Linked DNA regions of Homo sapiens: all the other regions are linked to region 1. Evidence: promoter capture Hi-C in 16 types of primary human blood cells and fetal thymus (Javierre and others, 2016). All regions are on one chromosome and are shown on one strand. Each heading gives the region's core, a stretch centred on a gene start or on the middle of the fragment in contact. The rest is flanking DNA. Distances are from core to core; before and after follow the strand shown.

The links. Contacts are between HindIII fragments. The CHiCAGO score rates a contact against its expected background, and 5 or more counts as called.
Region 2: a fragment that was not itself captured here is called in contact with the fragment with the promoter of AWAT2 in region 1 in 1 of 17 cell types (M1 macrophages); the score reaches 5.3 in M1 macrophages.
Region 3: a contact is called between a fragment that was not itself captured here and the fragment with the promoter of AWAT2 in region 1, in 1 of 17 cell types (M1 macrophages). The highest score is 6.3, in M1 macrophages.

Annotation. Positions count from the first base shown.
Region 1 is chrX:70,048,352-70,051,497 of GRCh38, forward strand. It overlaps AWAT2 (acyl-CoA wax alcohol acyltransferase 2), which reads right to left and starts at 1,587. Exons shown (of 8, transcript NM_001002254.1): 1 at 1,497-1,587. The coding sequence starts at 1,581. The HindIII fragment of the contact is 8,371 bases long and covers 1-3,146 here.
Region 2 is chrX:69,427,808-69,430,953 of GRCh38, forward strand. No RefSeq gene overlaps it. Among named protein-coding and RNA genes, the nearest start is that of NALF2, 75 kb to the right of the region's middle. The HindIII fragment of the contact is 543 bases long and covers 1,253-1,795 here.
Region 3 is chrX:69,511,459-69,514,604 of GRCh38, forward strand. The region is part of intron 1 of NALF2 (NALCN channel auxiliary factor 2); the gene reads left to right. Among named protein-coding and RNA genes, the nearest start is that of NALF2, 8.7 kb to the left of the region's middle. The HindIII fragment of the contact is 5,338 bases long and covers 1-3,146 here.

The DNA.
Region 1 (3,146 bases), core at 337-2,836:
TTCCCTCTCTTGTTTGTTCATTCATTCATTCAATAAATATATATCGAGCACCAATTCTGTGCTTCTCACCCTCCACCTCACTTAACCACTGGCAGCTCCTTGAATGCATTATGTGCCCTTTGCCATCCTAGCTTTTCCATGTGTTGCCCACTCTCTGCCCCAAATGCTCTTCCTTTCTTCACCTATTTCCTATTTGTCCTTCAAGAGTCAACTCAAATTCAAGAGAAAAATGGGCAGAGGTCATAAATGGGCAGTTAACAGAAAAAGAAATACTAATTGCTGATAAACATGAAAAGATGCTCAAACTCATCAGTAATTAAGGACGTTCAAAATGAGGCGACAGCTCATGGTTTCTTGCCTATCACTTCTGGGTGGAGGTAGTAAGGACTGTGAATGAGTTCTCCATTCACTTTCCCTCCCATGCTGTGGTAATCCCTCAAGCCCCATTTTGCAGCGACACAATTTGGTGGTGCCTCCGTCAGCCTGAATATCAATGTCCACAGTGAGCGGTGACTCCCACCAACCTATGTTGGACATTCAGCATGAACAAGAAATAAACATTTGCTGGGTTAAGCCACTGAGATTTCAGGGTGAATTTATCAGCACGGCATACCTAGACCATCCTGATTAATACACCCTGAATGCTCCCACTTTGCAAATGAGGAAAACAAGACTCAGAAAGGATAAATACCTTGCTAAGAATTACACAGATAGTAAGTAGTAGAACTGGAATTTGAAAACAGGTGAGGTGAGGTAAGGAATGCCCACCCTTCCTATTCACTGGCGTGCCTCTGTGCCAGCTCTGTGCACCAAGGCCTATCTGCATTCTTTATTCCTAGATAGCTTGCAAGGTCACTTAATTCATTTCCCTGACTCCAGCCAGTACTCACCTGAACCACTGGAAAGGCAAGAATGTTTTCCAGGACCCCTTCCCACAGTGATGATTTGTTTCAGCATTTAGAACACAGTGGCCAGCATAGAAATAACTTTCACAAAGTGTTTGTAGTGTAAGCGTTGGAAGACATGGATGGATAAATTGTCGAATTCCTCAGGATGAGGTTTCCAGAGCCTCGGTCTGCCACCTGACCCAACTATCTCTAATTGGTGGTTTGCTTGAGTCCCTGTGATTGCAGCCAAGCCCTTTTCCTTGGCTAGCCTCAGTGGAACTGCTCCTCATCTTCCCAAAGAATGCCCTCTACACCCCAATGTAGACCGAGAAGGGCTCACACCTGCAGCAAAGTCCATGTGCATAGACGTGCATATACACACCCCTGCATAGGCACACACCCATATGCACACACACATGCCCACAGGGACACTCACAGATCCCACAAATACCATGGCCAGGTGGGTCAGGCCAGAGGCTGGTGTTACCAACCTTCCTGGTTTTACTGGAACAACCCTAGTTTGACCATTGAACATCCTGCAACCCTAAAATCCTTCAGTCTCAGGCAAGCCAGGATGGTTGGTCACCCTACCAAAGGCTGAAGACTCACTGATAAGCAAGGCACTGAAGGACCACTGGAAAACAGCAAAGACATCCAGGGCAGTCTTGAGGTCCTTCTTAGAGGGCAAGAGCATTGTGCCCAGCGTCCCAGTGGCTCCAGGTAAGCACTGTTCAGCTGCCCAGCCCTGATTGCTCAGGAGTCTGTGATGTTTCCTCTCTTAATGTTTTCTTCCCCAGCCTCTGGCTAGCCTCCGCCCCTGTACCACCCCTCCACAGAATTACAGGACCATATAATGCCTCTGCTTATCCAGTTCCTTCCAGCTGCCCACTCACCTGTACTTTTACCCACTTGGGTATTGCCTGGACTGAGATTGTGACACTCCTTTGCGCACTTGGCTAGAGAAATGTGATGAAACCCTGGTGTGAAAGTTAGTGTGGGCGTGCAGCTGACAAGAGGCCTCCAGGGCCAGTCTGGATGGTGGAGAGTGATGGGCAGGAAGGAGCCCAGGGCTCAAATGGGACACAGGGCTTGCATTTCTGTTTCTGAGGCCCAACTGTCTATGGTCTCTCAGTGACAATGGGATTGGAGGGCAGAGGGAAGGAGGTCACAGGCAAGGCCTTAGAAATACCTTCAGCCTTTTAGTCAGTCTGGGAGAACTCATTACTCACATTGAAGAGACATCACATGTATGTCTGTGAGCTATCATAGGTACTGAATAAACCTATTATTGAATGAAGAAACAAATATTGGTGTATATTATTCTGTGTACATGAAATTTTAGAATAGGCAAAACCAATCTATAGTGAAACAAATCACAGCAGTGGTTACCTGTGCTTGGGGATTGACTAGGAAGGGGCATGATGGAAACCTTTAGGGGTAACAGTGACGTTCTCTGTCTTGATAGGACTGTGAGTTACACAGATCAAAACCTCATTACTCAGTGAGTATACACTTAAAATGTGTACGTTTCACTGCCTGTGGATTTTACCTCGAAAGTAAAAAAAAAAAGTTGAACTCTCATTAATTCTGAAGTGTTTAGGGGTGAAGAATACTAGGCTGGGCATGGTAGCTCACACCTGTAATCCCAGCACTTTGGGAGGCCAAGGCAGGAGGATCACTTGAGGCCAGGAATTAGAGATTACAGTGAGCTATGACCGTGCCACTGCACTCCAGCCTGGATGACAGAGTGAGACACTGTCTCTAAAAAAACAAAACAAAAAAGAGTGCTGATGTCTGCAATTTACTTTGAAATGCATGTAAAATATATTGATGGATGGATACAGGGATGTACTGATGGATAAATATGTAATAAATCAAACAAAGATTGATTTATTAAATCTAGTAAAATATATAAATATTTTATATTTTTAATATTTTAATATTTTTTATATTTTAATATATTTTTATATATTAATATTTATATATAATATATTAAATATATTTTTATATTTTAATATTTTATATTTTATATTTCTGTACAGATAACATAAAATATTATCTGTACAATCTAGGTGGTGGGTATTCACTGTACAATTCTTTCAACTACTCGGTAGGTTTGAATTTTTTTATAATAGAATTTTGAAAAAAGAGTTCCCTCAAGGTCATACTTTGGGAGGCCGAGGCAGGCAGATCACCTGAGGTCGGGAGTTCGAAACCAGCCTGACCAACATGGAGAAACCCCATCTCTACTGAAAAATA
Region 2 (3,146 bases), core at 274-2,773, 620 kb before region 1:
GTGTTGGGCTGGGAAGACCTCTCTAACAAGGTAGTATTTGAGCAGATATCCTCACAAAAGCATTTTAGACAAAGGGAACAGCCAGTACAAAGGGCCTGTGGTAGAAACATGCTTGACTTGTTTGAGGAATAGGCAAGGAAGCTGGTATGGTTGGAAGGAGTAAGCAAGGGCGTCAGCAATAGCAAAAAGGGCAGAGAGTGATGGAGAGGGGCAGATTTGGTAGTGTCCTAATGGCCACCGAGAAAGTATTCATTTTCAGAGAAATAGGGAGCCATAGGAAGGTTTTGAGGAAAGGAGGGACATGATTTGGCTTATTGGGCTGCTCTGTGAGGCGATGCTGCAGAGGTGAACAGAGGCCCTCCAACTATCCGAAATTTCTGGACCAACTCCAAATAGCCCTGTGCTTCACAAAGCCTGATATCTAGATATGTACGGATACATCAGCCAGAGGGATTTTTTTTTACTAACTTAAATTAGATTACAGCATCCTCTGTTTAACACCTTCCAGTGGCTTCCCATCACGTATTGGCTTCTCCAGTATCCTTGCCTGCAAGATCAGTGTCTGGCTTTGTCCTCATCACCTCCCACTCTCCCCTTTTCTCCCTCCCACATTGAGCTGCCTTCTTGGTTGCCCTCCCCCTACCCACTTGCCTGGCTCATTCCCACCTCAAGTCATGTGCACTTGTTCCATCTGCTGGGACACTCTTCTCTGAGCTCTTCTGATGGCTTGCTCTTTCTTATCATTCAGATCCCAGCCATTATGTCACCTCCACAAAGAGATCTTCCCTGATCACTCTCTATAAAGCAGCCGTAGAAGCCCTCCCTTTCATAACACCCTGATTTCTTCCTTCTCAGCACTTATCTTTCCATGTAATTGTCTTGACTATTTACTTATTGTCTAAGTTCATCCCTAGAATGTGAGTTCCAGAGGATAGAGACTTTATTTTGTTCATTACTATATCCCCAAAAACCTAGGACAGTGTTGGCACATAGTAGGCAGTTAATAAATGCTTGCTGAATAGATGACTGAAAGAAAATCAAGCCTTTCCCTCTCGATTTCTCTAGCACTGCTGAGACAGTCAAGATTTTTCAAAAGAAAATGTACAAGAAAAGGAGGCTAAAAGTAAAATAAAGAAAACGCAAAAAGTATAGCAGAGCTTTACAATAAAGCATTGGTTATTTATGAAAGAATTAGTGAGACTACATCTACATAAAACCCACAGCTAACATCATACAATGGTGAAAAACTGAAAGCTTCCTGCTAAGACCAAGAACAAGATGCAGATATCCACTTTTGCCAGTTCTATTCAACATTGTACTGGAATTTCTAGCCAGGGCAATTAAGCAAGAAAAGAGAATAAAAGACATCCAGATTGGAAAGGAAGATGTAAAGCTAACTTTATTTGCAGATGGCATGATCTTGTATATAGAAAATCCTAAAGAAGCCACTAAAAACTATCAGAACTAATAGATGAGTTCAGTAAGTTTGCAAGGAGCTTCCAGGGAAACAAGGGCTGGTAGGTAGGGTTTCCTGCCCCTCCCAGAGCTGCTGGGAGTTCACACTTCTTCAGGTACCATTTCTGTGGAATGAAACAGTCCAGACACACAAAGACTCTTTTTGCCTTTCTGCAAGCTCTTCCCCCGCCCCATGGCTATCGCCCCTTTGTGAAAAGGTTGAAGGATTATAGTCTCATATCCTGTGTGCCCTGTGAGCTGTGCTAGCCAAGACAATCTTCAACCAGAGTGTAGTTATCTCAGGATAAGGAATCGGGAGTGTGTAATGCATCCTCTCCTAAGCTTTTGTATTTTCTCTCTCCCTCTCTCCCTCTCTCCCTCCCTTTCTCTGGTTTTGTTTTTCACTTGGCTTCCTAGCAAATTTCCTTTTGATAAATTCTAATATTGTTTCATCTGAACTGAAGGGAATAGGATTTGTCTACATCTCAGTCGCTGCAGGGCTAGCTTGGAGGTCAGAGGTCCCTTGAGGCTAGGTGTGGGGGTGGCTGTAGCCAGCACAGCTGGAGATGCAGGGAAGGGTTGAAGCTGTGCAAATTTGTGTTTTGGACAATGGCTTAAGATACTGGAGGGATAGACTTTTGGCTAGGGATCGAGTGCATCTCAGTAAGGAAGAATGTGGTTGCCTGGAGACTTGCCGATCTGATCAAGATGACTTTAACTGGAAAAGGTGGTGGAAGGGGGGAGCAAAACATGCCCATATCAGACTGTAAGACCAGATACTATAGACAGCAACAGACATATCAGCGACAGAAGAATAATAGTGAAAGAGACACCCAGTGATTTGCAGGAGAAAATGACTGAGAAGGAAATCGGGCATGGCGCTTCCAGCCTTGACTGTCAATATACCAGTGTGAAGAGTAAGAGCTGAAAACAAAGCAAAATGAGATTTTTCAATACGAAGAAGTAAAAAAAAATCAAAGATATCATTAAGACTTAGATGAAAGGGATTCACAACTGAAAAATATACTAACTGGCACTTTTAAAGGATAGAAGGATATGGAAGCACTAATTTTGTGGCATCCAGAGGGGCAGGTTAAGAACAGAGAATCGGGAGAGAATACTAGGGAAAATAAACAGGACTCCAAGAATTGTGGAAAATAATCGTTTGCTCACTCATTTTGTGCCCTGCAGTCCGGATAGAGCAGTGAACAAGTTGGTCAAGGTTCCTGCTCTCATGAAGCTGATACTAAGGGGAGCTAGATAATAGACACATGAACAAGTAAATTAACAAAATAAAATCAGATAGTGAAAAGGCTCACAGAAAAATAAAACTGACAGACAATGAAAGGGAGGGAGGAATTACTATAATTTGGGTGGTCCTGGATGGCCTATGTGCAGAGGTGGCTTTTGAGCTAGTAACAAAGTGAGGGAGTGAACCGTGTGAACATCTAAGGGAAGAGCATACAAGCAAAGGAAACAGCAAAGGCAAAGGACTTGACCTCTTGGAAGAAATGAAAGAAGGCAATTATCTCAGTTTGGTTCTCTCAGATGCAGACACAGAGACAAGGATCTGAGTGCAGCTAGTTTATTGGGTGGGGTGGGAATACCAGTAGAGCAGTGGGAAAGTCAGAAAGGGAAGCAAATGCAGTCAGTAAAGGGTATGTTAATAAACCAGCTGCACAGTGGATAAC
Region 3 (3,146 bases), core at 172-2,671, 540 kb before region 1:
TCTCTCGTTACCATTCAGGGTAGACATGTACATGTGTGCATGCACACACAGACACACATTCATACAGACACACATCCCCCGGTCTTCTTCATGGCTACTTCCCATCCTTCCCGCAGGCTGGTGCCTGACTACTACAGTCACCATAGCAACGGGAACCTCCAGGAAGGATACACTGGTATCTCCTGAAGGTGGGGGTTGGGGGAGTTAGGTGGAGAAAGGGAGCCTAACAGCCTCCCACCCAATACCATGGTCTGGCAGGAAGAGTCTGCTGAACATGGTGAAGGTGGGAGTGAGGAAAGGGAAGACAGTGGGTGGAACCAAGATCAAAGGAGGGTCAAGAATCTCCCAACACATCGTAAGCATGCGAGGGTGCTTCTAAGCCATGCGGATGCATGTTGGTCCCCTCTGGATGTGTCAGTACCCTAAGGAAAGGGTATACTCACTTTTTTACATGTGGGTAGGGACATAGGCTGAACCTCAGACTCAGGGGCGGGAGTGTGCCTTAGAAAAACTCCTTTGGGGCAGTTATTCTGTGCCCCCACCCTCTGAGGCAGTTTACCTTCTGTGTGCCCATACAGACTGGGCATCAAACCTGCCCTCCCCAGCTCATTTCTCAGCCACATGTGGATTCCAGCTGCCAGTGTTAGCTGAAAGCCAGGGGTGGCCCCTGCTTCTGGGGATCTGGACAAATCTGGACCCCTACAAGCACCATTCTCCGATGCTGGCCTGGTAGGTCTCTGGGGAATGGGTATGTTTGCGTTTTGTGTGATTACAGGCACACAGACCAGAGTGTGTGCAAGAGGCCAGGGATGCTGGACCAGCCTTTTCTCCCTGGGCATAAAAGTGGGCTCAGTAACGCCTGAATTTTTGATACTGTTAGCCAGATAGGTGCTTAGAGGGGAGGGCAAGGGCACCAGGCGAGCTGCAGCTGGCTCTGGAGAGGGAAGGAGTTACTATGGAGTGACAGGGACTGCCAGGGCCAAAGCTCCTGCTCGAATGCATTCTGGAGAAAGGAGCTGGAACCTGAGCCACAAGTCTGTGCACCAGAAGATGAGGCCAACTGGCTGCAAAGACGAAAGGGCTAAGAAAGGGGAAGGAAAGAAGAAAATTGCGAGTCTTTGAGTGCCTAGGAGATGCCAGGGGCTTTATATATGTTCATGAACTCATTTAATCCTGGCAGTCATCCTAGCAGGCAGGCACTATCATGATTCCCATTTTACACATGAGACAACTGAGGCTCAGTGAGGTGAAATGACCTACCCAGGCCACATAGCAAAAGGACTGGCATACAAACCTAGGTCTGTCTGTTCTTTCTCCAGTGCACAGATGCATGAAGAAAATGCTAATAATCTCCTCCAACTGTCAGAGGTAGTGCCCAGCTGGCTACTGAGAGGCTGGGCTGAGAAGCTGGGCCGACTGGAAGGGAGGCCCAACAGAGCCTATTGGTAGCTTAGAGGTCCTCTGGAGTGGCCCAGATCCAAAACGAGGACCCACCAACATCCTCTTTGTTCAACGTCCCAGTCTCTTGTCCTTGGACCCAGTGACAATCACTGTTACCTTCCTGGAATAGCAACAAGAGAATGGGCACAGGGAAGGAACTGCAAAGGAGATGGGAGGACCTGGGCTCCTCTCGCCTGGAGGGAAGGTATCTCTGTTATATTCTCAGCCCCAATCTGCTGGAGGGATCAAGCAGAGCACGAGGGGAGAAGGTGCAGAACATTAACCTAAGTTAGTCCCTAAGCAGGCCTAATGCAGACCTGAGACCCTGGCCTCCACATCCACTACACCTCAACATGTGCAGTTTCTCCATATCCTTGCACATGCTGGTAGAGCTGGAAGGGAAAACGACTGCAGTAAGACTTTGTTGCCCCAGAGTCCGCTGAGGCCTGGCCTGGGCTTTGGATGCCCAGTTCCCATGCAAGGGTTTTGGTGAGCCCCTAAACTTGAACACCTAGGCTTTTCTTGGGGATTGAAGGAAGTGCCAGTCCACCAAGTTCTGCCAGAAGAGGGGCATTTGGTGGTGATGGGTGTTACCAATGTTCCCTGTCTTATTTGGTTTTAAGAAGATAGCATGGCTACCTGGCTGATCTGTGAAAGGTGAGCTTGTCTGTTTAGTGTTGAACTCATTAAAACTTCCAACTAAGTTAATCTCTTAGAATTATTATAGTCTCAGAATCTTATAATATCTTTTTTTCCAGTTAACCAAAAAGGCCTTTGAGAAATTTTGGAAAGTAGAAGTATAAAAGGAAAAAAGTCCCAGAGCACTTAGTCTTTTTTTTTTCCCGTGGTAAAATGTACATAACATAAAATATACCATTTCAACTATTTTTAAGTGTACAATTCAGTGGAATTAAGCACATTTGCAGTATTGTACAATTATCACCACTATCCATTTCTAAAACGTTTTCATCCTCCCAAACAGAAACTCTGTGCCCATTAAACAAGAACTCCCAGCCGGGCGCGGTGGCTCACACCTGTAATCCCAGCACTTTTGGAGGTCGAGCTGAGCAGATCACCTGAGGTCAGGAGTTCAAGACCAGCCTGGCCAACATGGCGAAACCCCAGCTCTACTAAAAATACAAAACTTAGCCGGGCATGGCGGTGCACACCTGTAATCCCAGCTACTCGGGGTGAGACAGGAGAATCACTTGAACCTGGGAGGTGGAGGTTGCCGTGAGCTGAGATCGCGTCACTGCACTCCAGCCTGGGTGACAGAGTAAGACTCTGTCTCAAAAAATTAAAAAAAAAAAAAACTCCCCATTCTTCCCTCCTTCCAGCCCCTGGTAAGCATTATTCTACTTTCTGTCTCTAGGAATTTGAGTAGGTACTTCATATAAGTGGAGTCATACACTATTTGTCCTTTTGTGTCCAGCTTATTTCATTTAGCATGAACATTTAGTGTTCAAGGTTCATCCATGTTGCAGTATACATCAGTACTTCATTCCTTTTTATGGCTGAGTAATAGTCCATTGTATATCTATGCCACATTTTGTTTATCCATTAATTTGTTGGTGGGCGTTTGGATTATCTCCACTTTTTGGCTATTATAAATAATGCTGCTATGAACATTGGTGTACAGGTATCCTTTGAGTCCCTGCTTTCATTTCTTTTGGGTTTATATTAATACCTAGGAGTAGAATTGCCAG